Linked DNA regions of Homo sapiens: all the other regions are linked to region 1. The links are contacts of gene promoters, found by promoter capture Hi-C in blood cells and fetal thymus (Javierre and others, 2016). All regions are on one chromosome and are shown on one strand. Each heading gives the region's core, a stretch centred on a gene start or on the middle of the fragment in contact. The rest is flanking DNA. Distances are from core to core; before and after follow the strand shown.

Region 1 (4,010 bases), core at 602-3,101:
ACTTTGGTCTAATTACTTAACCTCTCTGAGCTTAGTGTCCTTATCTATAAAATGAGATAACATATATCTATATATCTAAAAAGATATTTATATATCTATGAAATGAGATAACCAGTCTCATAGGATTGCTGTGAGGATCAAAATGAGTGAATATGCATAAAACACTTCAAACAATGTTTATTATTACTGTCACTTTCCTCATGCCTGAGTGTATATTCAGTAAAAATGTAATAAAGAAACCTTTAAAATTCCCTCCCTCAGCCACCAGCTCCTCCTTGCTTCCCATTTGGCAACCTGTCTGTCCCCAGAGACAGCGGTCACTTGCCTCCAAACACCTTCTTCTCGTCTGTCTGTAACCTGGGTCCCCACCCCCAAATCCAGGGGACAGCTCTTCACCCCCAGTGCTGAAACTTCTGTTTCAAAGGCCAGAAAAGCAGAGACCTGTGTCAACCTAGCAGACAGGAAACCCAGATTGCAGTCTGCCCCCCACCCACTTGCTTGGTGACCTTGGACAAGTCCCTTCCCACGCCTGAATCTCAGTTTCCTCATCTGTCAAGTGGGGTAATAACCCCTGGGGTAACAACCCACCAGTTCCCTGTAAAGGCTCAGTGCATTGGGCAGCTCAGCCGGGGCCGGTACCCTTATTAACATAACACCACCAGCCCAGCACAGTGCGGACTGTCAGTGCTGCCTCCTCGGGCCCCAGGTCATTTCTCCAAATACCCCAGCGTCCTCCCTGCCCCTGAAACCATTCTCATCGAACCCCACTCCCCAGTTCCTCCAGGTAGCAGCCTCCACTGCAGTCCTTCCCCTGTCCCCCCAAAACCAGGGACTGCCTGGCCAGACTCTTGGAGCCGGGCCTCTTCAGGCCTGCAGACCTGGGGCCTGCATCAGCCCTTGACTGCCCGGGGTGCCCCAGTTCCCCCAAGCAGAGCACGGCCCGTGTTCCATGGCCCTCTCCTCTGCATCCCCATCTCCCACCTCTGGGTCACCCTGTCTCAGGCCCTGGCCCTCTGGCTCTCTCCGGAGGCCACCTCTTCCCTCCCTGTCTCGGAGAGATGCCCCCTCCCTATAGGGAGTGACACACGCGTGTGCACACACACACACACTTCATTCACTGCCAGGTGCTGGCATCTCAGTCCCAACCTGTGTCCTTCCCCGTAGCATCCCCTGAATCTGGGTCCTGCTAGACTCTCAGCCTGGCCCAGTCACCGCCCCCATGCTTCTCTTTGGCAAACCTGCCCAGGGGATGACAGTCTCCTCCGGTTTCTCCTGATATCCACTCTCTCCCATCCCCAGACCAGACCCCGGGGCCCTCCTGGGAATGCGGGGTGTTCGAGGCCCCTGAGACCTCTCCTGCCCCCTTGTGTCTTCATGGCCTCCAACCCCTTCCAGGCACTGTCCCCAAAATGCAGGTTCACTGGAGAGACATCAGGCGCCTGAAGATACTGGGGTGCTCCGGCTACCAACCTCCGATCTCATCCTTCGCCCCCACGTCCCAGCACCTCCCCCACTCCATCCCCACGCGCTCCCCCAATATTGGGGTCCCGCCCCCCCATTCTCCCCACCCCCAAGCTCACACTCCGCAGCTCTTGAGTCCGATCCTTCATCCTGCGACGGCTCCTCCTCCTCCTCCTAGTCCTCCTGCCTCTGCTGCTGCTCCGGGTCTCCCGCCTCTGTGCCGGAGGCCGGGGTCTGGGGGCGCCGGGGGGCGCCGCGGCCGCTGCGGGGGGCCTGCGGGCGGGGGCGGGGCCGGGGGCGACTGGCCGAGGGCCGGGCAGGGGCAGGGGCCTGGGCCGGGCTCGGCTCTGCCGGGCTGCGGTGGCGATGCGGCTGCGGCACAGGGTAGGATGGAGGGATGCGGGAGCCGAGCGCGGGGGAGGGGGGCGGAGGGAGGTGAGGAGGAAGCGAGGGCGGGGGGAGCGGGAGCGCGCAAGGAGCAGGGGGCATGCGCAGCACCCGGGCCGGGGGCGCCTGGGGGTTGTAGTCACGGGCTTGGGGGACACCCGAGGAGGGGGCGGGAGAGGCCTGGAGGCGGGTGGGGGTGGGCAGAGCCCGAGGAGCAGGGAGAGATGCGGAGAGCCAAGCGGAGATGCTAGGGTGGCCCGGGGGGTGGGGTGGCCCGGCGGAAAGAGGGGGTGACGGAATGAATTCAGGGAATAACCTGGGAGCCAGGATGTGGATCCCTTTCCAGGAGACACAGATCGCGGCTGTGTTTTGTGTCTGGTGTCTGCGTGAGGCTGCGCGCCGACCACCTCTGGGTGCGAGCCCATGTGTGTTCTTGCAGGAGGCTCTTTGGACACTATAAATAGAAAGACCGACCCTCTGTGTGGTTTTTACGATGCAGGGAACCAGCCAGGTGCTTGCTGAGAAGGACACGGGGCTTGTGTTGCACAGCCTGGGCCTCTCCCGCCGCGGTGGGTCTCGGAGCTCTGCTTGTCTGCCTCCAGGGACAGGGTGCTCACTACCTCCCAGGACCTCTTGGCCCATCTGCAGATGGCTCTGACTGTTGAACATGAAATTTGTCCTTAGTGGGAGGGGAAATCAGGTGCCCCTGAGGGTCTGAGTGACCTCCTGTTCTGATGCCCACCTCTCCTCTCCCCATCCTTACACCACACCAGCTCCTCCCACCCCCTGCAATGGGGCGCCGGTCCCCAATGGGACAGGTCTTGACTCTCAATCGATCCTCCTGCCTCAGCCTCCCAAAGTGCTGGGATTCCATGCCTGGGCCACCGCACCCGGCATTCTCTTGCCAGGTACCCAGTGACCTCCTTGGTGCCAAATCTGTGTCTGATAAACCCTCATCCCACACCGCCAGTCGGGCCTTACCATCCCTGACCTCTCAGCAGCATGTGACCCTGATGAGCCCCTCTTCCTGAAACCCTCCTGTCTGTGGTGCTCCGCCCACCTACCCCCCAACCTGATCTGTGAGTGTTGTCTCCCAGCCTCTTTCCAGGTCCTTACCTTTTTTCCCACAGCCCTTCAACCTCAGGGTTCCCTGGGCTCCGTCCATTCTCTCTTTTTTTTTTTTTTTGAGTTAGGGTCTCATTCTGTTGCCCAGGCTAGAGTACAGTGGTGCAATCTCGGCTCACTGCAGCCTCAACGTCCCAGGCTCAAGTGATCCTCCCACCTCAGCCTCCTGAGTAGCTGGGACTACAGGCACGCGCCACCACACCTGGCTAATTTTATTTTTTGTAGAGACAGGGTCTCACTATGTTGTCCAGGCTGGTTTTGAACTCCTAGGGTCAAGCGATCCTCCTGCCTCAGCCTCCCAAAGTGCTGAGATTACAGGCCTGGGCCACCATGCCTGGCATTCTCTTCCTTCTTTACCTGCATCTTTCTGCACCTCCGTGTCTGCAGTGCCCACATCTGTACCTGCGAGCCAGATCCTCCCCCTGTAAGACAGCCCCTACTATATGCCTAAGCTCTGAGCTGGGCACCAAGAAGACAGAGATTGAAGATGCCACCAGAGCCATGAGTAGATCCATGACTACAGTGGGCATGGCTAGCGCTGACGTGGGGACCTCAAGGAGGTGGCTGTCCCCAAAGTGTTCCTTCCTGTGTTCTCCCTCAGAGATGGCGTCATCTCCATCCACCCAGCCACTCAAAGCACAGAAAGCTGTCCTTGCCTCCCCGCCATTATAATGCCAGCACGTTCTGGGCATCCAACGTGTTGCATTCACTATGCTGGTAGCTCCCAGAAACCTCCCAACCTCACAGTAGCCACTGCTAAGATCCCAAGTGTATAGACAAGGACACTGAGGCTTTGCATGGTCACATAACATATCCAAGTTCACAAGGTTAATAAAGGGCAGGGCTGGGGTCTTGTTTGCTTTTTTTTTTTTTTTTCCAGAGACAGGGTCTCACTCTGTTCCCCAGGCTGGAGTGCAGTGGTGCAATCACACCTCACAGCAGCCTTGACCTCCTGGGCTCAAGCAATCCTCCCATCTCAGCCTCCTGAGTAGCTGGGACTACAGGTGTACACCACTGTGTCCAGCTAATTTTCTTTC
Region 2 (4,010 bases), core at 837-3,336, 440 kb after region 1:
ACTGAGGTGGGAGGATTGCTTGAGCCCAGGAGTTCAGGACCATCCTGGGCAACGTAGCAAGACCCGTCCCTACAAAAAAAAAAAATTAAAAATTAGCTGGGTGTGGTGGCATATGCCTGTAGTCCCAGCTACTTGGGAGGCTGACACAGGAGGATCACCTGAGCCCAGGAAGTCGAGGCTGCAGTGGGCTGTGGTCGCACCACTGCACCCCAGCCTGGGTGAGGGAGAGACCCTATCTCAAAAAACCATAAAAAGCTTTTTGTTATTGGGATGGCACTGCTCCAGGGCTTTCCAGAGCTAGGGAATATATGGACATTTACACACATCTGCGTGCACATACACATATACACACCCATACTAATTTCTATGTCTATCTAAACACTTTCTGAAAATCCTGAGTCTACTCCTATACCTCCAGTTCCAATTCGACACCACAAGGGTCTCCCCACCCACATTTTCTCCCTTTCCCGAGCTGTGTCTCGGTTTTCTCTGACACTGAGAAACCTGGCTGTTATCTTTCAAATGTGTACTTATTTGACCAATAGCTGGTGGAAGCAGTTTCTTATCTCTCTCGCCATCTCCTTCCCGTGGCTGATGCCTTCCTAATCCTATCAGGTTCTGCCATGCCAAGCCAGGCCACCTTCTCGTGTGGACACCCTCCCCCACCTGCTGGAGCTCTGATACATGCTCTGGCCTGCTGCGTCTCACTCCCCACACCCGGCAGAGGCCTCTTTGGCTCTGCCTGCCCCTAGAGGCTGTAAGACAGCATTGTTCAGGAAAGGGAGGAAAGGGAATGGGTGTAGGAAAGGAAGAGCGGATCTCCTTTGAAGAATTATCTTTAAAAAAAATTATTTTTTTAGAGACAGGGTCTCACTCTGTTGCCCAGGCTGGGGTGCAGTGGCACAATCCTAGCTCACTGCAGTCTCAAATTCCTGGGCTCAAGCGGTCCTCCTGCCTCAGCCTCCTGAATAGCTGGGACTACAGTGAACATCACCACACCTGGCTGGTTTTTTAATTTTTTCTAGAGATGGGGTTTGCTATGTTGCCCAGGCTAGTCTCGAACTCCTGGGCTCAAAGCATCCTCTCACCTCAGCCTCTCAAAGTGCTGGGATTATAGGTGTGAGCCACCGCCTTTTTTTTTTTTTCTGATTTACTATAATATTTCTAGTAAGCCATTGGCTTAGAAACCAGATTCACTAATTAATTCATTTACCCTTTCATGATACAAAATTTTTTAACTGAGTGAGGCCTTTCCTGAGAATTGAGCACATGAGCTTTGGTGCATGGACCTGGAAATCTCTGCTTCTTGAACTCCTAGGGGCTTCCTTTACTTCATTCACTCCTGGTGCTCAGCAAATTTCTGAATGGGGGAGGTTGGCCAGCCTGGGAGAGGTCACCCACGCCAGGAAGTCTCAGTACCTCTCTATTTATCCTATCACTTGGGAATCCTCTAGGATCTGTTTCAGGGAGTCTCTGGTTAGCCCTGAGACATAAGTGGTGCGGGTGAGACTCCTGGGGCCTATCTCAGAGGTCCTCACACCCCTGAGATTAAATCAGTCAGGAGGCAGGGTGGAGAGAGGAGTGTCCTATCAGGTCTGAGGAGGTTGTCAACTTCCTGGACTTCTTGCTAAGGACTCCTCTTCCCACCCTTCATGGGTAGCTGAGGTCAGGGAATCTGTAGGGACAAGACTTTCTTTTAAATGCTAATCTGCTGACTAACCCTGAGTCTGGGAATGCCTCCAAAATGTCAAGCTGATGTGTTTTTTTATTTTTTGGTTTTGTTTTTTTTGTTTTTTTTTTGAAACGGAGTCTCACTCTTTCATCCAAACTGGGGTGCAGTGGCACGATCTTGGCTCACTGAAACCTCCACCTCCTGGGTTCAAGCAATTTTCCTGCCTCAACCTCCCAAGTAGCTGGGATTACAGGCACGTGCCACCATGCCTGGCTAATTTTTATATTTTTGGTAGAGACAGGGTTTCACCACGTTGGGCAGCCTGGTCTCGAACTCCTGACCTCAGGTGATCTGCCCACCTCGGCCTCCCAAAGCGCTGGGAATACAGGCGTGAGCCACCGTACCAAGACATCCCACAGCACCAGCCTGTGTGTGTCTCGCCAGGCTCAGAGCTGGGAACCTGGAACCCAGGACTGGGTGAGCTCAGAGACATAACTGTGACTGTACTGGAGTCAGTCTTATGCCCAGAGCTAAGCAGAAGCAGGGCCAGCCCAGAGGAGACGATGTTACCGACTCCCACCCCGTCCTGTCTAGCGCTTAGAGTACCTCTGTACTGGCTTGCTTCCTACAGTTGCTCTGGGAGGAATGTGTGCCAGAGACCCTGACCTCTGACCCAGGCATGCAAGGGTCTGCCTTGCCTAGTTGAGCCTGTGCACTCTGTCTCTGCCTCCCTTCAGATAGGGAAAGGAGCTTCAAATTACGGGGTGATGTCATAGCACGGAGTGGAGATGGGGTGGCAGGGAGACAGGGAGGCTCAGGGAAGGAGGCCAGGTATTTCACAGAGGAGTTCTGGGGGAGAAGAAGGAAAACGGCAGAGAAGGGAACAGGAAGGGGTGAAGGAAAGGGGAAAAGTGCCTTCACTGCATGGAAAGGTCCTTCTCACCCACAGTGGGGTGGGATGGAGACTGTAACCTCAAGTACTTTTCTGCAGGGGACAGGCAAGTAACACATATGAAACGTGCTGAGTCAGGGATGCAAGAGGGAGTGTCCCTGTTCCTATGTCCAGGACAGCCACTACTCAACGAACTGCTGCCATAAAAATCCAATGTTGCAGCATCTTCTGATATAAATAATAAAGCAGGCCGGGTGTGGTGACTGACGCCTGTAATCCTACCACTTTCGGAAGCCGAGGTGGGTGGGGGAGGGAAGGGCCGGGGCAGGGGATCTTTTCTTTTTTTTTTTGAAACGGAGTCTTGCTCTGTCACCCAGGCTGGATTGCAGTGACAGGATCTCCGCCCACTGCAAGCTCTGCCTCCTGGGTTCATGCCATTCTCTTGCCTCAGCCTCTTGAGTAGCTGGAACTATAGGCGCCTGCCACCATTTCCAGCTAATTTTTTGTATTTTTAGTAGAGACAGGATTTCACCTTGTTAGCCAGGAAGGTCTCGATCTCCTGACCTCGTGATCCGCCCACCTAGGCCTCCCAAAGTGCTGGGATTACAGGCGTGAGCCACCGTGCCCGGCCAGGAGGGGATCATTTGAGCCTAGGAGTTCAAGACCAGTCTGCAACCTGGCAAGATCCTGTCTCAATTAAAAAAAAAAAAAAACAAAAAAAACAACAACAAACCAAGCCCCAGAAATCGACTGTGATGTGAAATCTCCTTATTTAAATGTTGGCTCTTTAAAAAAATAAAAAGACCAGGTTAGGTGGCTCACATCTGTAATCCCAGCATTTTGGGAGGCTGAGACCAGAGGAACACTTGAACTCAGGAGTTCAAGACCAGCCTGGGCAACACAGTGAGACCCCGTCTCTACAAAACATTTTTTAAAAATCAAAAAATTAGCCAGGTGTGGTGGTGTATGCCTGTAGTCCCAGCTCCTTGGGAGGTTAAGGTGGGAGGATCACTTGAGCCCAGGAGGTTGAGGCTACAGTGAGCCACAATTGCACCACTGCACTCCAGCCTGGATGACAGAGTGAGATTCTGTCTCAAAAATAAATAAATAAATAAATAAATAAATAAATGGGCATGGTAGCTCACACCTGTAATTCCAGCATTTTGGGAGGCTGAGGCAGGGGGATTGCTTGAGCCTGGAAGTTTCAGAGACCAGCCTGGGCAACAAAATGGAACTCAAAAAGTAAAAATCTTGGCTTGTTTGAAAACACACACACACACACACACACACACACACACACACACACACAGCCAAAACAAATGTGTTTCCCATCTCGGGCTTGGGCACTGGGTCACAAGCTTGGACAGTGAAGCTACTTCTAAACCCAGCACAGGGTACAGTGGATGCAGGACATGGGATAAACTCCTGTTAGATTAAGCCCGTCCC
Region 3 (4,010 bases), core at 1,050-3,549, 390 kb after region 1:
GGGACAGCATGAAAAGTCTTATTTGTTCATGTGCATATGATGTGCCCTCACGATTGCAGAGTGAACTCCACAAACTCTGAGGTCACTTGGGAATGTTCTTTTTTTTTGAGACGGAGTCTCACTCTGTCGCCCAGGCTGGAGTGCAGTGGCACAATCTTGGCTCACTGCAGCCTCCACCTCCCAGGTTCAAGTGATTCTCCTGCCTCAGCCCCCCAAATAGCTAGGATTACAGGCACCGCCACCATGCCGGGCTAATTTTTTTGTATTTTTAGTAGAGATGGGGTTTCACCATGTTGGCCAGGCTGGTTTTGAACTCCTGACCTCAAGTAATCCGCCCACCTCAGCGTCCCAAAGTGCTAGGATTACAGGCGTGAGCCACCACTCCCAACTGGGAATATTCTTGGGCACCGCACCCATGGGAGCATGAAGGGTGGATGCAATGCAATCATAACAGAGGCCCAAGGTCAGCACTGGGGTGCTTGCCTGTCATCCCAGTGCTTTGGGAGGCCGAGGTGAGTGGATCGTTAGAGCCCAGGAGGTTGAGACCAGCCTGGGCAACATGGCGAAACTCCGTCTCTACAAAAAGATACAAAAATTAGCCAGGCAAGGTGGTGCACACCTGTAGTCCCAGCTACTCAGGAGACTGAGGTGGGAGAATTGCCTGAGCCTGGGGAGGTCGAGGCTGCACTGACCTGTGATCACACCACCACACTCCAGCCTGGGTGACAGTGAGACTCTGCCTCAAAAAAACAAAAAATGAAAAAACCAGAGGCCTCAGCCAATGCCTGGGGGGCTCAGAGTGCAGCTGGCCCTTCAGACGCTGAACCAGTCATCGGTAAAGGTTTCCTCCAGGGGCAGGAGGTGTCCCAGTGGGCAACAGTTCCCCTCTGCCTAGCGTGATTCCTGGGAAGGGACTCAGCTCAGAGCCAACTCCACGTAGCTGGAAATAAGGACCTCTGACCGACTGGGGGTAGGGTGGGGTCTGGGGTGGATCCCTGCCCCACCCCCACAGCATCCCTACAGGCATATCCTACAGGCCTCGAAGGTGCCTGGCACGTGGTGAGAATGGTGCCAGCGGCTGACCCTGGCAGAGGGCCAGGACTTGTCTCCAGCACCCATGTGCGTGTTGCTTTATCCTTGCAGTGATCCCACGTGGTAGCCACTGATATTACCTTCATTTTACAGATAGGGACACTGAAGTCCAGAGAAGTTAAGTAATGTGCCTGAATTCACCAATTAGCACGTGGCTGAGCTGGGGTTTAGCCCAGGCACACTGGCTCCAGAACACGCGCCCTGAACCACTTTGCTAAACATTCGCCCTTGATGCTTGTGGCACCCCTAGCATCTGTGTTTAATGAATATTTGTTGATTAAATGGATGAGGAGCCCACCTGGGTCCTGTGTTGTCATCCCTCTCTTTCCAGGCCATGTGGGAGGAAGGGAGCAGGGGGCTGGGGTGGCAGACTGGGGCCTCCTCCAAGGAGGGGTCGGAAACTAGGTGGGGATGCCAAGAACAGCCCCCGGGCTCTGTTGAGCAGGAGCTGCAGGAGGGGGTTGGGCCCCCGCAGTGCATCTCCGATTCCTCCCCATTCCCCCACAGAGTGTCCACATCAAGAGATGGACATCGTCTTCCTGATTGACGGCTCTGGAAGCATTGACCAAAATGACTTTAACCAGATGAAGGGCTTTGTCCAAGCTGTCATGGGCCAGTTTGAGGGCACTGACACCCTGGTGAAGACTGGGCACCTGGGGCTGGGGTTTGGGGGACGGGGGAGGCTGGCCTCGGGGAGGCATCCCGGGAGGGGTGGGGGCAGGCCAGTGAGCCGTGTGTGATGGGGCTGGGGTGGAGAATGAAGCTATGGTCCCAGCACAGGCCCAACTTGAGCCCTGACCTAGGAGGCCCTCTTGGCATTTAATAATGTATCCAAAAGCTACAGGAAATACAATGTTTCTGCTGTTTAAAAACATTGAAAGTGTTTAAAAAATAATTTTGCTATGGAATTTGACTGACATATTTTCTATGTAACTAATGATTTCTTTTTATTATTTTATTTTCCCATAACTAGTGCCTATGTATGTGCAAAAAAACCCCACTGTTTTGTTTTTTAAACAGGGTCTTGTTCTGTCATCCAGGCTGCAGTGTGGGGGTGCAATCATAGCTCACTGCAGACTTGATCTCCCAGGCTCAAGTGATCCTCTTTCCTCAGCCTCCTGAGTAGATGGGACTACAGGTGCATGCCACCATGCCTGGCTAATTTTTAAAAATTTTTATTGTAGAGATGGGGTCTTGTTATATTGCCCAACCTGGTCTCCAACTCCTGGCTCAAACAACCCTCCCACCTTGGCCTCTCAAAGTGCTGGGATTACAGGCATGAGTCACTACGCCCAGCCACAAATTCTTGAGAAGGGAGGAAATACACAAATTGATTTAATGTGTGATAAAATTTTTAAAAAGCTAAGGGTAGCAAATATTGTGGTTGGCAAAGTTATTTTTAATAAACTGTGAAGGAAATATCATTTGGTTTAGATTTTCCAGTTTATATTTTGTATTTTTGGGCCAATGAATTTTCTTCTCTGGGTTTCAGTATATTATTTGTAGGGCTTCAAAACACATGGGAAATGGTTTGTAAATCCAAAATAATTCCAAAATAAAGTTTATTAAAACTGAAAACAATATGGCTTGGTGTGGTGGCTCACACCTGTAATCCCAGCACTTTGGGAGGCTGAGGTGGGAGTATTGCTTGAGGCCAAGAGTTCGAGACCAGCCTGGGCAACATAGTGAGACCTTGTCTCTACCAAAAACAAAACAAAACAAAAAACAAAGCCAGGCATGTGACGTGTGCCTGTAGTTCCAGCTACTTGGAGGCTGAGGCAGGAGGATCACTTGAGGCCAGGAGTTTGAGAGACCCTGTCTCTACAAAAAATTAAAATAAAAACAATAGTAACAGGCACTGAGCCCTGGGCCCTCCCCACTGGCCTTTGCAGTTTGCACTGATGCAGTACTCAAACCTCCTGAAGATCCACTTCACCTTCACCCAATTCCGGACCAGCCCGAGCCAGCAGAGCCTGGTGGATCCCATCGTCCAACTGAAAGGCCTGACGTTCACGGCCACGGGCATCCTGACAGTGGTGTAAGCAACCCCGACCCCAGCCTGGCGATGTGACTGCCACCCCCACTTCCTAACCCTGGGTCAGCACAGCTCTTCTCAGAGGCTGAGGGAGGCTCCAGGGAAAGGGGCTACCAAGGGGCATGTCGGGGCTGCAGGGAGAACCTCCCCCCGGGGTGCTCCTGGTTGCCTCGCTGCCAGTCTCCCTGATATAGGACTAGGCTCCTCTGCAGCTATGCCTCCCCTTTGCCTGGTTCTGCAGAGCCTGGACCCCAGGACCCCTCCCCACCCCACAGCAGCCAGAGGCCCGGGCTTTGGCTCAGACACATCAGGCTCCCATCCTGGCTCCCCGTGAGCTACTCTGGGTGTAACCCTGGGGTGATGGGCTCTAAGTCTCAGTAACTCTCAGATGAAGATAAGCTCACAGCTTAGGATTGAGATCATGTGTGTGGGGTGCTCAGCCCGGGGCACGTAGGAGGTGTCGGATAAATGCCTGAGGTTTTATCAGAGAATGGAGTAGTCAGGGACTCAGGAATTGTCACCCAAGGTCGTCCTGGTGCCTTTCTCCCCACTCACCTCCTCTCCCGCATCCCTCACCCCTGCGCACCCCCTGTGCTACCCAGGCACTCACCGTGGGCCTGCCCCGTGCACATGCAGTCTATTCCTAAAACGATGTAGGAGGTGGGACCCCCGAGAAAGGCATGTGGTTCTTGTAGGAAGGAGCTGGGCTGACGGTCGGGGATCCTTGGCTTCCTGCACACACCCCTGGGAGCAGCCCTGGGGTGGTGCTAGAATTTGGCTTAAACAAGAGATGCTCCCACCAAACGCACCCTCTTTACTTCTGGGAGGCTCTTCTGCCTTGAACGGTGGCCCCTTGTGACTCAGCAACCCAGAGGAAGGCCTC
Region 4 (4,010 bases), core at 465-2,964, 370 kb after region 1:
CACAGCTGGCCTCCCGCGTTGGGCAACATTGCTGGCTGGAAGGGAGGAGCGCCCTCTAGGGAGGGACATGGCCCCGGTGCGGCTGCAGCTCACCCAGCCCCAGGGGCAGAAGAGACCCAACCACTTCTATTTTTTGAGGCTATGAATATAGTACCTGAAAAAATGCCAAGACATGATTATTTTTTTAAAAAGCGTACTTTAAATGTTTGTGTTAATAAATTAAAACATGCACAAAAAGATGCATCTACCGCTCTTGGGAAATATGTCAAAGGTCTAAAAATAAAAAAGCCTTCTGTGGATATGAGTCCTGAAGGATGACACCCATGGGGTCCCTTTACCACGGTGGACCCTGGCCAGCACTGAGGCCTGGGGCCAGGACAAGAAGTTAACCAGAGTAGGGTTGTGAATATCCCTCTCTTGGAAGTAACCTGACCTCTTAATCTGCTCACTCCACTCTCAGGGCTGGTGCCGATGGTAAGCTGGTGGAGCTGTCGGGTGGAGGGGGCATAGAATAGAGAAGGGACAACCTCCAGTGGCTACTTTTCCACCTGGAAAGGTCTCTGGAGTGACCAATACTCACAAGCGTTTCCTACAAGTCCTAGGATGTGTTGAAGGGCACACTGTCTGCATATAGTGAGTGATTGAAGAACATGTTGGGGTCCCACATTGAGAGCTGCTGCCCACAATAAGGTCATTCTTGCTATTATGCCACCATCCTGGCATAAAGTTCATCATGGTGCTTGGCACTGAGCTGGGGGCCTCACAGGACAAGCCATTCCTGACCTCGGAGTGACGCCACTGCAGCTATCACCAGCAAGGGACCCGGGCCGTGTGGATGTTTCAATTAGAAAAACAGAAGGGAGGCAGTTGAGTGATTTGAAGGGAAGATGGAAAGTGGCCCTTTACCTCCAGCCAAAAATGTCTGTCCTATACATCAGCAGAGGCTCCAAAATCCCTGTGGATTTTGAAGCTTTTGAGTCCCCAGGATGACTAATTATTATGCAGTTTCCTCAGAAAGGGAATCAGAAGATAAGGCTTTGTAAGAATTCAGCCCTAATGGCTGGGCACAGTGGCTCATGCCTGTAATCCCAGCACTTTGGGAGGCCGAGGCAGGAGGATTGTTTGTGCTCAGAAATTTGAGACCACCCTGGGTAATATATTGAAACCTTGTGTCTACAAAAAAATTTAAAAATTACCCAGGCATGGTGGCATGTGCTTGTAGTCCCAGCTACTTGGTAGGCTGAAGCAGGAGGATCACTTGAGCCTGGGAGGTTGAGGATACAGTGAGCTGTGATTTGGACCACCACACTCCAGCCTGGGCAACAGAGAAAGATCATGTCTCAGAAAAAAAAAAAAAAATTGACCCTAGAGTGGTGTTTCTCAAAATGTGTTCCACGAACCACTGGTGGTCAATGATGGTCTTCTAAGTGGAAGGTTTTAGAGAAAAAGAGCAAGAAACCCATACATCTCAAACATTTGAAACTAGTGATTTGCACAGAAATAGTGTTGTGGCCTTAATAATTGTGTGGCACACGGACTCCAGGGACTACAGTGGGTTCTTGTCTAAATTCAGGCAACAAGTTGTTATTTTCTATTTTATTTTATTATTATTATTTTTTGAGATAGTCTCACTTTGTCTCCCGGGCTGGAGTGTAGTGGCACGATCTCGGCTCAACGCAACCTCTGTCTCCTGGGTTCAAGTGATGCCTCTGCCTCAGCCTCCCAAGTAGCTGGGAGTACAGGGGCGTACCACCATGCCCATTTTTATTTATTTATTTTTGAGACAGAGTCTCGCTCTGTCACCCAGGCTGGAGTGCAGTGGCATGATCTTGGCTCACTGCAACCTCCGCCTCCCAGGTTCAAGTTCAAGCGATTCTCCTGCCTCAGCCTCTGGAGTAGCTGGGATTACAGGCAGGCACCACCATTTCCAGCTAATTTTTGTATTTTTAGTATAGATGGGGTTTCACCATGTTGACTAGGCTGGTCTCGAACTCCTGACCTCATGATCCGCCCTCCTCGGCCTCCGAAAGTGCTGGGATTAGAGGTATGAGCCACTGTACTTGGCCGACAAGGTGTTATTTTCTGATATTCTTCCTTTGTGTGTTATTGTGTACATTTATTACATTTGCATTTTCAGGGTTGGCTATTGTGTTGCATTAGATCCCCGAATCACAAAATGGATCAATGGCTCAAAAGCATGGAAGTTGTGATTAAAAACTAATCTAATTGCTACAATTTACAATAATGTCATCAAAGTCAATATTGACTTTTAAATATTGAGCCCAGTGCACGTATAGTATAGACATGCATACCGGAATAAGTGATTGTGAGCCAAAACCCGAAAATATCTAGAAGGTATTATACTCCCTGACAGGTAGGTTGTATTGGTTCTGACATGTATTTGTCCCTAGTGTGCTGCCCATTCTGAAACTTTATCAAACAGTCGCATGAACCTCTGAAAGCTTTTGTGTTATTTTCTTATTTATTTATTTATTGAGATGGAGTCTTGCTCTGTCGCCCAGGCTGGAGTGCAGTGGCATCATCTTGGCTCACTGCAACCTTTGCCTCCTGGGTTCAAGTGATTCTCCTGCCTCAGCCTCTTGAGTAGCTGGGATTACAGGCGCGCACCACCACGCCCAGCTAATTTTTGTATTTTTAGTATAGACGGGGGTTTCACCATGTTGGTCAGGCTGGTCTCGAACCCCTGACCTCATGATCTGCCTGCCTCAGGTAAAGCAATAGAGATTTCTTAGAACAACTGCTACATGTAGCTTTCCTATTCAAAAGTGATTAGTGTTGTCACCGAATACAGAGGAGACAGCAAAACCACAGTGACATAAATCAAAGGTGCTTTTTAAAGTAGCAAAAGTAGGTACAAGTCACATAATTTCCAAGAAGCTTGTAGAAATGGCAGTAGAGTTCATACCTGTATTGAAAGGTTGCTTTTGGCTGCAAATAATAGAAAAAAACAAAAGCATGTAAGAGCAGACAGAAGACCTTTACTCTGCAAGAGGTTCAGGTGCAGGTTAGTGTTTAATGCAGAGTCTCAGCATTGACAGATTCTTTCTGATCTTCCAATTGATCGTCCTTGCGGGGGCGGTTTAGTTCTTTCCCACTGACTAGGATTGGGTCAAATTCCATCCCCTTGGTTGCATGCAGTGCTGAGAAGGTGAGCATGTGCTTTTCACAGGCTTAATAAAAAGAGGTAGCTCCAGCCAGGTGCAGTGACTCATGCCTATAATCTCAGCACTTTGGGAGGCAGAGGTGGGTAGGTCACCTGAGGTCAGGAGATTGAGACCAGCCTGACCAACATGGCAAAACTCTGTCTCTACCGAAAATACAAAAATTAGCTGGGCATGGTGGCAGGTGCCTGTAATCCCAGCTACTTGGGAGGCTGAGGCAGGAGAATCGCTTGAACCTGAGAGGTGGAAGTTACAGTGAGCTGAGGTCATGCCACTGCACTCCAGCCTGGGGGACAGAGTAGAACTCTGTCTCAACAAAAAAAAAAAAAAAAAGAGAAAAAAAAAGGAGGGTAGCTCCACCAGCCAGGAAGGTGGCAGCGCTGGTGGCTGTTGGATAGGCTACCTACAGTGTCTGGCAAATACTATGCTTGAAGACTATGCTGTGAGCAAGATTCCTTTGTGAAGGAACAGCTTGGACATTGTGTATGTCAGAGGTATACAGCAGAATAGCAGTGACTAACGCTTGTGTGGGAGAGCAAGCATGTCACCTCATACTTGGAATAAGTCACTGCCATACAAAGTCTGAATCAGCTTTCATCTTTGTGCAACACATGTATGTGGGAGCTTTTCAGCTGCTGAAACCTCTAGTGACAGAAAAGGAGGTTTTGTTGTTCATTTGTAATTAATGTTAATCCTATGAGTGGTGGGAGAGATAGTGAGGTAGGAGATCAGCAGGACCTGTTTTCTGGTCACAACCCAGCTAATCAGAGCATGATCTGGTCAAGATGGGATGCACTAAAAAAACAGCCCAAACCAGCAGATGGCCAG
Region 5 (4,010 bases), core at 16-2,515, 340 kb after region 1:
CCATATAACCCACTTTCTAAAATGAAAATGTGAAGATCTCAGTCCCCATGAATTCCCTTCAATGCTGTCCTCCACTCTCAGGACAAAATCAATGTGTCTTCACCAGGTGTGGTGGCTCACACCTGTGATCCCAGCAATTTAGGAGGCTGAGGCAGGAGGATTGATTGAGATCAGGAGTTTGAGACCAGCCTGGCCAACATGGGGAAACTCTGTCTCTACTAAAATTAAAAAATATATATATATAAATATATATATATATTCAGGTGCAGTGGTGCAATCCTATAGTCCTGGCTACTCAGGAGGCTGAGGCAGGAGGATCCCTTGGGCCCAGGAGTTCGAAGCAGCAGTGAACTATGCACCCACTGCACTCCAGCCTGGGTGGCAGAGCAAGACCCTGTTTCTGAAATTAAAAAAAAAAATTGATGTACATTAGGGGGGCTTCCACGGCCTGAGGCCTGCTTCCCCTTGCTTTCCTCCCAGTGGCCCTGACCTTGTCTCTTACAACTTCCCACCCTGACTGTCTGGTTCCCATTGCTGATTTCACACACAGACCCTCCTGTCCCCTGCCTCATCCATGTCTGGCTGCTCTGTCATCTCCCAACTTTGGTTGCTTTCAATGCTCAGCTCAAGCACCACCTCTTTCAGGAAGCCTTCTCAGAAAGCCACACCTTCACAACCCGGGTGAGGCACCCTGTGGTCTCTGTGCTTCCCCCTCACAGCAATGAACTTGCTGTTTATACATCTGCCTCTCCACTGACCCCAGGGCTGGTGCTTTGTGGTTTATATTTTCTTCCCCACCTAGCAGAGGGCTTGCATCTCCAGGCTCAAATTAGGCTTCTTGAATAAATGATGAATAAATGAGTGAATGAATGAATGAACAAATACTCGCTCTGTGCTCCTCCTAGGGACCCGGATGCCCCACTCCTTGGCCCAGACTTTCCAGGTCAGAGTGGAGGGCTCCCACCAGGGTTTCCTTTAGGGTCCTGAGGGGTTGGCATCTGCCCAAACCCCCTCCAGTCTGGCTGAAATTTCAAGGTCAAGGGGTGCCTTCTGGCAGTCAAGGGTGAGCCTGGGAGGGGCAGGGCAGGGATTTGCATCCATCTAAGCAAAGGGCATCAAGCCAAGTCATCTGATGAGAGTGACTCCGGTTGGGGGGTGGGGGCGTGTGGGAGGCCGAGCCTGTCCTCGGATCAGTTGCGTACTCTGCCCGCCCCCTCTGACTCATGCTGACAATCTTCTTCCTTCCCCTGGCCACCTCTCTGCCCACTTGCTTCCTCAGTACCTTGGTCCAGCTCTTCCTGCAACGGCCCAGGAGCTCAGAGCTCCACATCTGACCTTCTAGTCATGACCAGGACCAGGGCAGCACTCCTCCTGTTCACAGGTGAGCCTGGACCCCAATGAAGTAGGGCTGGGGACCCAGGCCCAAGGGAGCCAGGGCCCTGAACTGGGGGCTCAGGCTGGGGGGTTAGGATCTGGGTAGGAAGAGAGACTCAGTCAAGCCTGAGGGGGAGGCAGGCACATAGGGTCTGAGATTTGGAGTTTGTGGAGGGAGAGGATATTGATGAACCAATTTTGGGAGAGTTCCAGAGATGCTGGAAGAGAGGCCAGTTGTCTCTGTACTGCAGAGATTTTTAAAATAGGCAGAATGCGCCAACTTGTGCTCTGTGGACAGGATGCTTTGGTCCGCAAGTTTTCCTGGACTCACTCTCATAGCGCCCGAGGTGCACGTTGGGGAAAGATCCTTTTTAGAGCCTGGGTACTGCTCTGCAGAAATGGAGAACTGCAACTCGATAGTGGATGGTGGGCAAGGGGCATCCCTGGACCCTGGGAAGGAGAGAAGGGGATGAGTTGGGTGTCCAGAAGACCCAGGCACCCCGGGCATCAGGCTCGGAGGGGAGATTGGGACGCTGGGGCCGGGGGTGGAGGGCAGCCAGGCAGAAGGAAGACCCTTCTCCAAAGCTCTCTTCCCACCTCTTTCCCAGCCTTAGCAACTTCTCTAGGTTTCAACTTGGACACAGAGGAGCTGACAGCCTTCCGTGTGGACAGCGCTGGGTTTGGAGACAGCGTGGTCCAGTATGCCAACTCCTGGTGAGGCCCAGGTGGTGCTGGCCTTTGGCTCCATCCATCCTCTCCCTGCTCAGGGCCCCATGCCCCCGGCCCTGCCCTGTTATTTGCAAACTCTCCTCTCTGTCTGGTGTAGCGACTGCCCTGGCTAATGAAGATTTGCCTTGAAGGCAGGCACGGTCTCACAGCTAACATTTACAGAGCAGTAAGTGCAGTGCCAGGCTCATCACAGGTGGATGCTGATTTAGTCCACACGACAGCCTGTGAGTAGGAATCAGTCGTGCAACAAACACTTATTTGTTTTTTCTTTCTTTTTTTCTATACATTTAAAAATATATAGAGACAGGGTCTCACTATGTTGCCTGGGTTGGTCTCAAACTCCTGGGCTCAAGCAATCCTCCCGCCTCAGCCTCCCAAAGTGCTGGGATTCCAGGTGTGAGCCACCACACCCAGACTCAACAAATATTTCTTGTCTCCATACGCCAGAGAATCCAACAGACAGAAATCCCTTCCACATGGACTTTAAATTATTAAAATCCATCTTGCAGATGAGGAAGCTGAGGCTCAGGGAGGGAACGCAAACTTGCCGGAGTGGCAGCTGTGCTGCAGCGTCCACACTCTTACCTAAAGTGTTCTTTGTCTCCTCGCAGGGTGGTGGTTGGAGCCCCCCAAAAGATAACAGCTGCCAACCAAACGGGTGGCCTCTACCAGTGTGGCTACAGCACTGGTGCCTGTGAGCCCATCGGCCTGCAGGGTGAGTCACCGCCCCTCCCGGGACCCAGGGCCGGGCTCCCAGGCTTCCCTGCTCCAGGGGCCCGTGGACTCACCGGAGTGTCACTTTCAGCTTCCACTGTGTCTGAGACCCTCACCCTCAGATATGCTTCCTGGCCCCTTAAGGCCTCCCCGCCCATCGCACTCCCGCAGCTCTGTCAAGACCCGACAGCTTCCTTCACCGTCAGACCTCCTTGTCTCCCAGGTGGAGGTGACCCCTGCCCAGCTCTTCCACAGCCTTCTCTGTACCCCCGAGAGTGACCATGCACATATCTGTCCCCACAGTGCCCCCGGAGGCCGTGAACATGTCCCTGGGCCTGTCCCTGGCGTCTACCACCAGCCCTTCCCAGCTGCTGGTGAGTGGCCCTGGGTCACAGGAGGCTTCTGAGGGAGGGAGGGAGGAGCCGGGGCCGCGGGGGGCTGGGAGTCTCCTGTAGGGTGGAGGTTCCGGAATGTGAGGGTGGGAGGAAGCAGGGGCAGCCCCCCAGCAGCCCGCTGTGTCCCCAGGCCTGCGGCCCCACCGTGCACCACGAGTGCGGGAGGAACATGTACCTCACCGGACTCTGCTTCCTCCTGGGCCCCACCCAGCTCACCCAGAGGCTCCCGGTGTCCAGGCAGGGTGAGTGTCGGGACCACCAAGGCTTTGAGGAGCTCACGCACATCCAATTGGGGGTGCGGTGGGCTAGAGACAGTCTTGCCAGAGTGGATCAGAAAGAAGGGATCTGGAAAAAGAGTTACCACGTGTTGCAGTGGTTCCTGACGCTGCTGCCCGCACATCCTGCCGATCGCCCGCACGCTGCCGGACCTTTCCTGTGACCTTAACCTCTCCAAGCCTCAGTTTCTTCATCTGTTGGATGGGGATAATAACACACCCAGCACTGAAAGCAACACAGGATGATTCATGGCCAGGGGTTAGCACAGCAGCTAGCACCAGGCGACAGCCCCATGAAGGCCAGCTGTTGTTATTTTTAGAGGAGAGGATCTATTTTCATCCAATGGGTCCTGGGATATGACCAATTGGTTTGTGCCGTAGTTTAGGAAAGGTCAGTGAAAGTGCAGTGTGAGCAACGTGTGTGTGTGTACATGTGTGTATATGTATGCATGTGTATACATGTGCACATGCACACATGTACATGCATGTGTGTGCATGTATGTGTGTGTGCGTGTGCACATGC
Region 6 (4,010 bases), core at 1,130-3,629, 320 kb after region 1:
CGTGGTGGTGAGAAGCTAAGTCAGCCCCAGGGCCACACAGAGACCCAGAGCGCTTCCCTGCTGGAACCTGTATGGTCTCTGAGCAAACGGGGAGGGGTGTTCTCTGCCTTCGGCTTCCTTACCCGTCCCCTCCCCTCCTGCGTTCCCCAGAACTGCTCCATCGCTGTCTGCCAGAGAATCCAGTGTGACATCCCGTTCTTTGGCATCCAGGAAGAATTCAATGCTACCCTCAAAGGCAACCTCTCGTTTGACTGGTACATCAAGGTGTGTGGGGTCCTGAGGCTTCGCCGGGCACAGGCGTGGTGCTCAGGGCCCAGGTGCAGTGCCCACCCGCTCTCTTCCACAGACCTCGCATAACCACCTCCTGATCGTGAGCACAGCTGAGATCTTGTTTAACGATTCCGTGTTCACCCTGCTGCCGGGACAGGGGGCGTTTGTGAGGTCCCAGGTACCTGTCTTGGGCGCTGAGGAACTATTGGAGGGAGAGGGGCTGCGCTTGTGGAGATTTCTGGGGGAGGAGAGAGAGACACAAAGAGAGAGGGAGAGAGAGAGACAGAGCGACAGAGAGACAGAGAGATACAGAGACGTAAGGAGAGAGACAGACAGAGACAGAGAGATAGAGGCAGAGGGAGAAACAGACACAGAGACAGACAAAGGAGAGAGAGATAGAGAGTCAGAGAGATAGAGATAGAGACAGAGACAGTGAGAGATGGAGATAGACAGAGAGATAGAGATAAAGAGAGAGATACAGAGCGCGACAGAGACAGAGACAGTGAGCCATGGAGATAGAGAGACAGAGAGAGGCAGAAAGCGATAGAGAGAGATAGAGGACAGAGAAACGGAGGAGGGAGAGGAGGGAGAAGAGGTGGGGGAGGAGGACTGAGGGCTGGGGTTCTGGGGGACATGAGGAGGGGTTCCCCACTTGATTCAGGGGTGCACACGGTGTGAATGGGGAACCCCCAGAAATCCAGAGTCGTCTCCCCTGACGCCCCTCCTTCCTCCCCCAGACGGAGACCAAAGTGGAGCCGTTCGAGGTCCCCAACCCCCTGCCGCTCATCGTGGGCAGCTCTGTCGGGGGACTGCTGCTCCTGGCCCTCATCACCGCCGCGCTGTACAAGGTGCTCCCCGCTGCTCCCCCACCCCCTCCCTTCATCCTCTCGGGCCTCGCGCTGCAGCTCCGTGCCTCGGTTTCCCCGGCGGGGCTGCCAGCTGTGTGACTGGGGCGAGTCTGGGAGCCTCTCTGCGCCTCAGTCTCTTAGGGAGGGTGGCCGGGTTCATGCGCGGGGCGCGCTGAGAACGAGTCGCCCTCCTTGTAGTTTCTGTTTTTCTCCAGGCCCCGACGCGGATGTCACTCCCCTCCCGCCCCGCCCTCCTGGGTCCCTTCTGTCTCTGCCGGCCCTCCCGCCCCCTCCCCCTGGTCTGCGGAGCCGCACGCTCCCTGGCTGCTGTCGCTCTCACTGCCCTCCTCTGCCCCGCAGCTCGGCTTCTTCAAGCGGCAATACAAGGACATGATGAGTGAAGGGGGTCCCCCGGGGGCCGAACCCCAGTAGCGGCTCCTTCCCGACAGAGCTGCCTCTCGGTGGCCAGCAGGACTCTGCCCAGACCACACGTAGCCCCCAGGCTGCTGGACACGTCGGACAGCGAAGTATCCCCGACAGGACGGGCTTGGGCTTCCATTTGTGTGTGTGCAAGTGTGTATGTGCGTGTGTGCAAGTGTCTGTGTGCAAGTGTGTGCACATGTGTGCGTGTGCGTGCATGTGCACTTGCACGCCCATGTGTGAGTGTGTGCAAGTATGTGAGTGTGTCCAAGTGTGTGTGCGTGTGTCCATGTGTGTGCAAGTGTGTGCATGTGTGCGAGTGTGTGCATGTGTGTGCTCAGGGGCGTGTGGCTCACGTGTGTGACTCAGATGTCTCTGGCGTGTGGGTAGGTGACGGCAGCGTAGCCTCTCCGGCAGAAGGGAACTGCCTGGGCTCCCTTGTGCGTGGGTGAAGCCGCTGCTGGGTTTTCCTCCGGGAGAGGGGACGGTCAATCCTGTGGGTGAAGACAGAGGGAAACACAGCAGCTTCTCTCCACTGAAAGAAGTGGGACTTCCCGTCGCCTGCGAGCCTGCGGCCTGCTGGAGCCTGCGCAGCTTGGATGGAGACTCCATGAGAAGCCGTGGGTGGAACCAGGAACCTCCTCCACACCAGCGCTGATGCCCAATAAAGATGCCCACTGAGGAATGATGAAGCTTCCTTTCTGGATTCATTTATTATTTCAATGTGACTTTAATTTTTTGGATGGATAAGCTTGTCTATGGTACAAAAATCACAAGGCATTCAAGTGTACAGTGAAAAGTCTCCCTTTCCAGATATTCAAGTCACCTCCTTAAAGGTAGTCAAGATTGTGTTTTGAGGTTTCCTTCAGACAGATTCCAGGCGATGTGCAAGTGTATGCACGTGTGCACACACACCACACATACACACACACAAGCTTTTTTACACAAATGGTAGCATACTTTATATTGGTCTGTATCTTGCTTTTTTTCACCAATATTTCTCAGACATCGGTTCATATTAAGACATAAATTACTTTTTCATTCTTTTATACCGCTGCATAGTATTCCATTGTGTGAGTGTACCATAATGTATTTAACCAGTCTTCTTTTGATATACTATTTTCATTCTCTTGTTATTGCATCAATGCTGAGTTAATAAATCAAATATATGTCATTTTTGCATATATGTAAGGATAATTTATAGGATATGTTCCTGGAAGTTTGGGTTCTCCCAGAAGCAAACCCAAGAATTTGGGTGAAACAAGCGTATTTAAGAGGTGGCAGGCCAGGCATGGTGGCTCACACCTGAAATCCCAGCATTTTGGGAGGTGAAGGTGTGAAGATTGCTTGAGCTCAGGAGTTCGAGACTAGCCTGGGCAACATAGTGAGAACCTGTGTCCACGAAAAATTAAAAAAATTTAGCCAGGCCTGGTGTTACATGCCTGTAGTCACAGCTACTCCGGAGGCTGATGCAGGAGGATTACTTGAGCCCAGAAGGTCTAGACTGCAGTGAGCCATGATCGCACCACTGCACTCCAGCCTGGGTGACAGAGTGAGATCCTGTCTCAAAAATAAACAAAATAATAAAATAAAGGTCGGGCACAGTGGCTCACGCCTCTGTAATCCCAGAACTTTGGGAGGCCGAGGCTGGTGGATCACCTGATCTCAGGAGTTTGAGACCAGCCTGTCGAACTTGGTGAAACCCCGTCTCTACTAAAAATACAAAAAAATTAGCCATGCATGGTGGCAGGCAACTGTAATCTCAGCTACTTGGGAGGCTGAGGAAGGAGAATTGCTTTAACCTGGGAGGTAGAGGTTGCAGTGAGATATGATTGCATCACTGCACTCCAGCCTGGGCGACAGAGCAGGACTCCATCTTAAAAAAAAAAAAATAAATAAAATAAAATAAAATAAAGAGATGGCTCCAGGAAATACCGAGGAAGGGAAGGCTGCCAATAACAGGTGTATCACCCACAGAGAAGCTGCTGTGAGTTCCTGGAGCTTCACCCCACTGGGCAGTTCTCGGAGGCAGTGCAGAACACGCACCTCAGTATCACCCCACCCAGGGGAGAAGGCTGGAGCGCATAGACACCGATTCCACTTAGCTATTGGATGAGGGCTGCTCTTGGTGGGGAGAGTGTGTTAATTTCCTACCACTTCTGGCCTGCCCTGAGTGTGAGGAGAGTGGGCTCTAGTGGCCAGAGAAAGTGATACCAGTGCTGCTGGCTGGATGTTTGACAGGTGAACACAGCCCCTGACACGGTGCCTTTGGTTCAGGTCAGGGCACCAGGAGCACTTGCTGCCAAGGTGTGTGCAGGTGACATTTTGGTGGCTGCTTCCTCAGAGGGAGGATGCCCAGTGCCTGTCCCTCATACTTTGCAAACACAGTAAACACTAGCCTGGCCTGAACATACATCCTCTCTAATCCTCACACCAGTCCTTGGTATTTACATGAATTTCACTTATGAGGAA
Region 7 (4,010 bases), core at 412-2,911, 280 kb after region 1:
TATGGCTAGCCAGTTATCCTAGCACCATTTGTTGAATAGGAATTCTTTTCCCCATTGCTTATTTTTGTCTTAGATCAGATGGTCATAGGTGTATGGCCTTATTTCTGGGCTCTCTATTCTGTTCCATTGGTCTATGTGCCTGTTTTTGTACCAGTATCATGCTGTTTTGGTTACTGTAGCCCTGTAGTATAGTTTGAAGTCAGGTAATGTGATGCCTCCTTCTGTGTTCTTTTTGCTTAGGATTGACTTGGTTATTCAGGTTCTTTTTTGATTCCATATGAATTTTAAAATAGTTTTTCCTAGTTCTGTGAAGAATGTCATTGGTAGCTTAATAGTAATAGCACTGAATCTATAAATTGCTTTGGGAAGTGTGTCCATTTTAATGATATTGATTCTTCCTATCCATGAGCATGAGATGTTTTACCATTTTTTTGGTGTCATCTCTGATTTCTTTGAACAGTGTTTTACAATTCTCACTGTACAGATCTTTCAACTCTCTGGTTAGCTGTATTCCTAGTTATTTTATTCTTTTTGTGGCAATCGTGAATAGGATTGCCTTCCTGATTTGGCTCCCAGCTCTTGTTGGTGTATAGGAGTGCTAGTGATTTTTGTACATTGATTTCGTATCCTGAAACTTTGTTGAAGTTATTTATCAGCTGAAGGAGCTCCTAGGCCAAGACTATGGGGTTTTCTAAATATAGAATCATGTTGTCTGCAAACAGGGATAGTTTGACTTTTTTACTTCCTTTCTTCCTATTTGTATGCCCTTTTTTCTTTCTTTTGCCTGATTGCTCTGGCTAGAACTTCCAATAATATGTTGAATAGGACTAGTGAGCAAAGGCATCCTTGTTTTGTGCTGGCTTTCAAGGGGAATGCTTTTGCCCATCAAGTATGATGTTGGCTGTGGGTTTGTTGTAGATGGCTCTTATTATTTTGAGGTATGTTCCTTCAATACCTAGTTTATTGAGAATTTTTAACATAAAGGGGTGTTGACTTTTATTAAAGCCTTCTCTTCATCTATTGAGATAATCATGTGGTTTTTGTCTTTAGTTCTGTTTATGTGATGAATCATATTTATTGATTTGCATATGTTGAACCAACTTTGCACCCCGGGAATGAAGCCTACCTGATCATGGTGGATTAGATTTTTGATGTGCTGCTGGATTTGGTTTGCAGGTAGTGTGTTGAGGATTTTTGCATTAGTGTTCATCAAGAATATTGGCCTGAAATTTTCTTTTTTTGTTAAGCTGACACTTTTTAGTTTGATGCCACCCCATTTGTCTGGTTTGCTTTTGTTGCCTGTGCTTTTGGGGTCATATCCAAAAAATCATTTCTCAGAAGCTTGATTGTCAAGAAGCTTTTCCCTTTGTTTTCTTCTAGTAGTTTTACAGTTTCAGGTCTTGTGTTTAAGTCTTTAATCCATTTTGAGTTGATTTTGTATATGGTTTGGGATAAAGGTCTAATTTAATCCTTTTGAATATGAATATCCAGTTCTCCCCACACCATTTGTTGAAGAGAATGTCCTTTCTCCTTTGCATATTCTTGGCACCTTTATTGAAGATCAATTGACCATAAATGCATAGTTTTATTTCTAGCCTCCCTGTTCTGTTCCATTGGTTGATGTGTCTGTTTTTATGCCACCACCTTGCTGTTATGCTTACTAGAGCTTTCTTGACACAGTATGTTTTGAGATCAGGAATTATGATGCCTCCAGTATTTTTTTTCTTGAGGATTGCTTTGGCTATTTAGGGTCTTCTGTGGTTCTACATAAATTTTAGTTTTTTTTCTATTTTTGTAAAAAAATGCCATTGGGATTTTGATAAGGATTGTACTGAATCAGAAGATTGCATTAATACTCCAGTCCATGAACATAGGATATCTTTCCATTTATTTTTGTCTTGTTTAACTTCCTTAATCAATGTTTTATAGTTTTAGTGTACATGTTTTTCACCTCTCTGGTTAAATTTAAGCTTAGGTATTTTTTTTGATGCTATTGTAAATGAGATTGTTTCTTGATTTCTTTTTCAGATAGTTCATTGTTAGTGTATAGAAGCACTATTGATTTTTCACATTGATTTTGTAACCTGTAACTTTACTGAATTTATTCATTAGTTCTAGTAGTTCTTTTTTGGTGGAGTTTTTAGGGTTTTTTAAAAATATATTTATATATATATGTTTTTATATATATATCATTTTAAGTGTAAACAGAGACAAATTTCCTTTTTTATATCTGATTTGGGTCTCTTTCATTTATTTTTCTTGCCTAATTGCTGTGACCAGGACTTCCAGTACTATGTTACATAGAAGTAGTGAGAGTGAGCATTCTTGCCTTTTTCCTCATTTTAGTGGTAAAGCTTTCAATTTTTCACCATTGAGTATGATGTTTGTTGTGGGCTTGTCGTATATGGCCTTTATCATATTGAGGTACATTCCTTCTGTAGCGAATTTATTGAGAGTTTTTATTATAAAAGAATGTTGAATTTTGTCAAATGCTTTTTTTTGCGTATATTGAGATGATCATGTGGTTTTAGTCCTTCATTCTGTTAATGTGATATGCCACATTAATTGATTTGCATATGTGGAATCATCCTTGCATCTCGCATCCCAGGGATAAATCACACTTGATCATGGTTATTATCTTTTTATCTTTTTTTTTTTTTTTTTTAACAGAGTCTCTCTGTGTTGCCCAGGCTGGAGTGCAGTGGCGTTATCTCGGCTCACTGCAAGCTCCACCTCCCAGGTTCACGCCATTCTCCTGCCTCAGCCTCTTGAGTAGCTGGGACTATAGGCGCCCGCCACCATGCCCTGCTAATTTTTTTTTTTTTGTATTTTTAGTAGAGATGGGGTTTCACCATGATTTCCAGGTTGGTCTCGAACTCCTGACCTCAGGTGATCCACACGCCCTGGCCTCCCAAAATGCTGGGATTACAGGCATGAGCCACTGCATCTGGCCGGTTATATGACTTTATATGTTTGTCAAAACTCATAAAACTATGTACTAAAAGGCTGAATTTTATTGTATGTAAACTCTTCCCCAATAAATCTGACCTAAAAAACAATCAAATTCTGTTGACTTTAGGATAAAGTATTCAGTTATCAATGAGTCTTCCCTCAATGGTGTATGAGGCAGAAATCACGTTGCAGAGCCGTGGCATGATGTCCCCTGCACATTCCCTTTCTAGAACTTGTCCCAGTTTGAAATTGCTATACACATCTCCCTGTTAATCCATTGATTACTCTCCTCTCCTCCACCTGGCTGCACTGAGGGCCCTGGAAGGCACTGTATCTCTATTACCCAGCTGTGTGCTTAGCAATAAGAAACACTTGTTTGTTGAATGAATGAATAAATGAATGAATGAATGTATGATTAAATAGGTGAATTTTATGGATGAATTCTACATATTGACCTTGAAGATATTTCTTAATATCACAACAAATATTCAAATAACAAATAGTTATTTTTAATCTAAGCCAGTTATTAGCCTTATTAGTCAGAGTGCCAACTTTGACTTTTTACCTCCCTAAAGATTCCCAATATATTGAAAGGGTGGTATTCTGTCTTCTCTTCTAGAATTTTCTATGTATTTTCCAACCCAAATTCTTCTTTGCTGCCTTAATAATCTCCCAGGAATACCACCTGGAGTAAATCCTCACTCACTGCCCATTGACTCTACTATAGGCTTATTTTTTATCTTTTAAATTATTAAAAAATATATATATACACTTAGAGATTGGGATCTTGCTCTGTTGCCCAAGCTGGAGTGCAGTGGTGACAAAGCTCACTGCAGCCTTAAACTCCTTGGCTCAAGGGATCCTCCCACTTCAGCCCCCCGAGGAGCTGGGATTACAGGCAGAAACCATTCTGCCAGGCTTATTATATAGGTTCCTTTAGCTGGCAGCACATTCAAGTGATAATTTATCATGAACCATATAGAAGATCACATCTGCTCCAGAGGGATTCCCCCAGCAGGCATAACTTTTCTTCAGAGAGAGAAAACCTCCACATCTGC

The links. Contacts are between HindIII fragments. The CHiCAGO score rates a contact against its expected background, and 5 or more counts as called.
Region 2: a fragment that was not itself captured here is called in contact with the fragment with the promoter of STX1B in region 1 in 15 of 17 cell types (naive CD4 T cells, neutrophils, monocytes and 12 more); the score reaches 10.3 in naive CD4 T cells.
Region 3: a contact is called between a fragment that was not itself captured here and the fragment with the promoter of STX1B in region 1, in 3 of 17 cell types (monocytes, M0 macrophages and neutrophils). The highest score is 7.2, in monocytes.
Region 4: a fragment that was not itself captured here is called in contact with the fragment with the promoter of STX1B in region 1 in 2 of 17 cell types (monocytes and total B cells); the score reaches 6.4 in monocytes.
Region 5: a contact is called between the fragment with the promoter of ITGAX here and the fragment with the promoter of STX1B in region 1, in 1 of 17 cell types (monocytes). The highest score is 8.8, in monocytes.
Region 6: a contact is called between a fragment that was not itself captured here and the fragment with the promoter of STX1B in region 1, in 10 of 17 cell types (naive B cells, naive CD8 T cells, total CD4 T cells and 7 more). The highest score is 8.6, in naive B cells.
Region 7: a fragment that was not itself captured here is called in contact with the fragment with the promoter of STX1B in region 1 in 3 of 17 cell types (neutrophils, naive B cells and total B cells); the score reaches 6.8 in neutrophils.

The regions. Positions count from the first base shown.
Region 1 is chr16:31,008,787-31,012,796 of GRCh38, forward strand. STX1B (syntaxin 1B) reads right to left here and starts at 1,852. Exons shown (of 10, transcript NM_052874.5): 1 at 1,581-1,852. The coding sequence starts at 1,610. RefSeq lists an enhancer at 1,888-2,389. The HindIII fragment of the contact is 27,284 bases long and covers 1-4,010 here.
Region 2 is chr16:31,451,213-31,455,222 of GRCh38, forward strand. No RefSeq gene overlaps it. Among named protein-coding and RNA genes, the nearest start is that of ARMC5, 6.3 kb to the right of the region's middle. RefSeq lists enhancers at 596-890, 1,471-2,243, 2,244-3,015. The HindIII fragment of the contact is 3,667 bases long and covers 254-3,920 here.
Region 3 is chr16:31,400,516-31,404,525 of GRCh38, forward strand. It overlaps ITGAD (integrin subunit alpha D), which reads left to right. Exons shown (of 30, transcript NM_005353.3): 6 at 1,600-1,730; 7 at 2,985-3,130. Among named protein-coding and RNA genes, the nearest start is that of ITGAD, 9.2 kb to the left of the region's middle. The HindIII fragment of the contact is 7,259 bases long and covers 1-4,010 here.
Region 4 is chr16:31,382,701-31,386,710 of GRCh38, forward strand. It overlaps ITGAX (integrin subunit alpha X), which reads left to right. Exons shown (of 30, transcript NM_000887.5): 30 at 1-299. Among named protein-coding and RNA genes, the nearest start is that of ITGAD, 8.6 kb to the right of the region's middle. RefSeq lists an enhancer at 1-408. The HindIII fragment of the contact is 1,492 bases long and covers 969-2,460 here.
Region 5 is chr16:31,353,911-31,357,920 of GRCh38, forward strand. It overlaps ITGAX (integrin subunit alpha X), which reads left to right and starts at 1,266. Exons shown (of 30, transcript NM_000887.5): 1 at 1,266-1,381; 2 at 1,983-2,088; 3 at 2,715-2,818; 4 at 3,121-3,191; 5 at 3,343-3,454. The coding sequence starts at 1,345. RefSeq lists enhancers at 528-657, 848-1,037. The HindIII fragment of the contact is 18,983 bases long and covers 1-4,010 here.
Region 6 is chr16:31,330,158-31,334,167 of GRCh38, forward strand. It overlaps ITGAM (integrin subunit alpha M), which reads left to right. Exons shown (of 30, transcript NM_000632.4): 26 at 1-7; 27 at 151-264; 28 at 347-448; 29 at 1,008-1,118; 30 at 1,479-2,720. The coding sequence ends at 1,550. Among named protein-coding and RNA genes, the nearest start is that of ITGAX, 23 kb to the right of the region's middle. RefSeq lists a silencer at 1,321-1,400. The HindIII fragment of the contact is 184 bases long and covers 2,288-2,471 here.
Region 7 is chr16:31,293,460-31,297,469 of GRCh38, forward strand. All of the region lies in intron 12 of ITGAM (integrin subunit alpha M), which reads left to right. Among named protein-coding and RNA genes, the nearest start is that of ITGAM, 35 kb to the left of the region's middle. The HindIII fragment of the contact is 613 bases long and covers 1,356-1,968 here.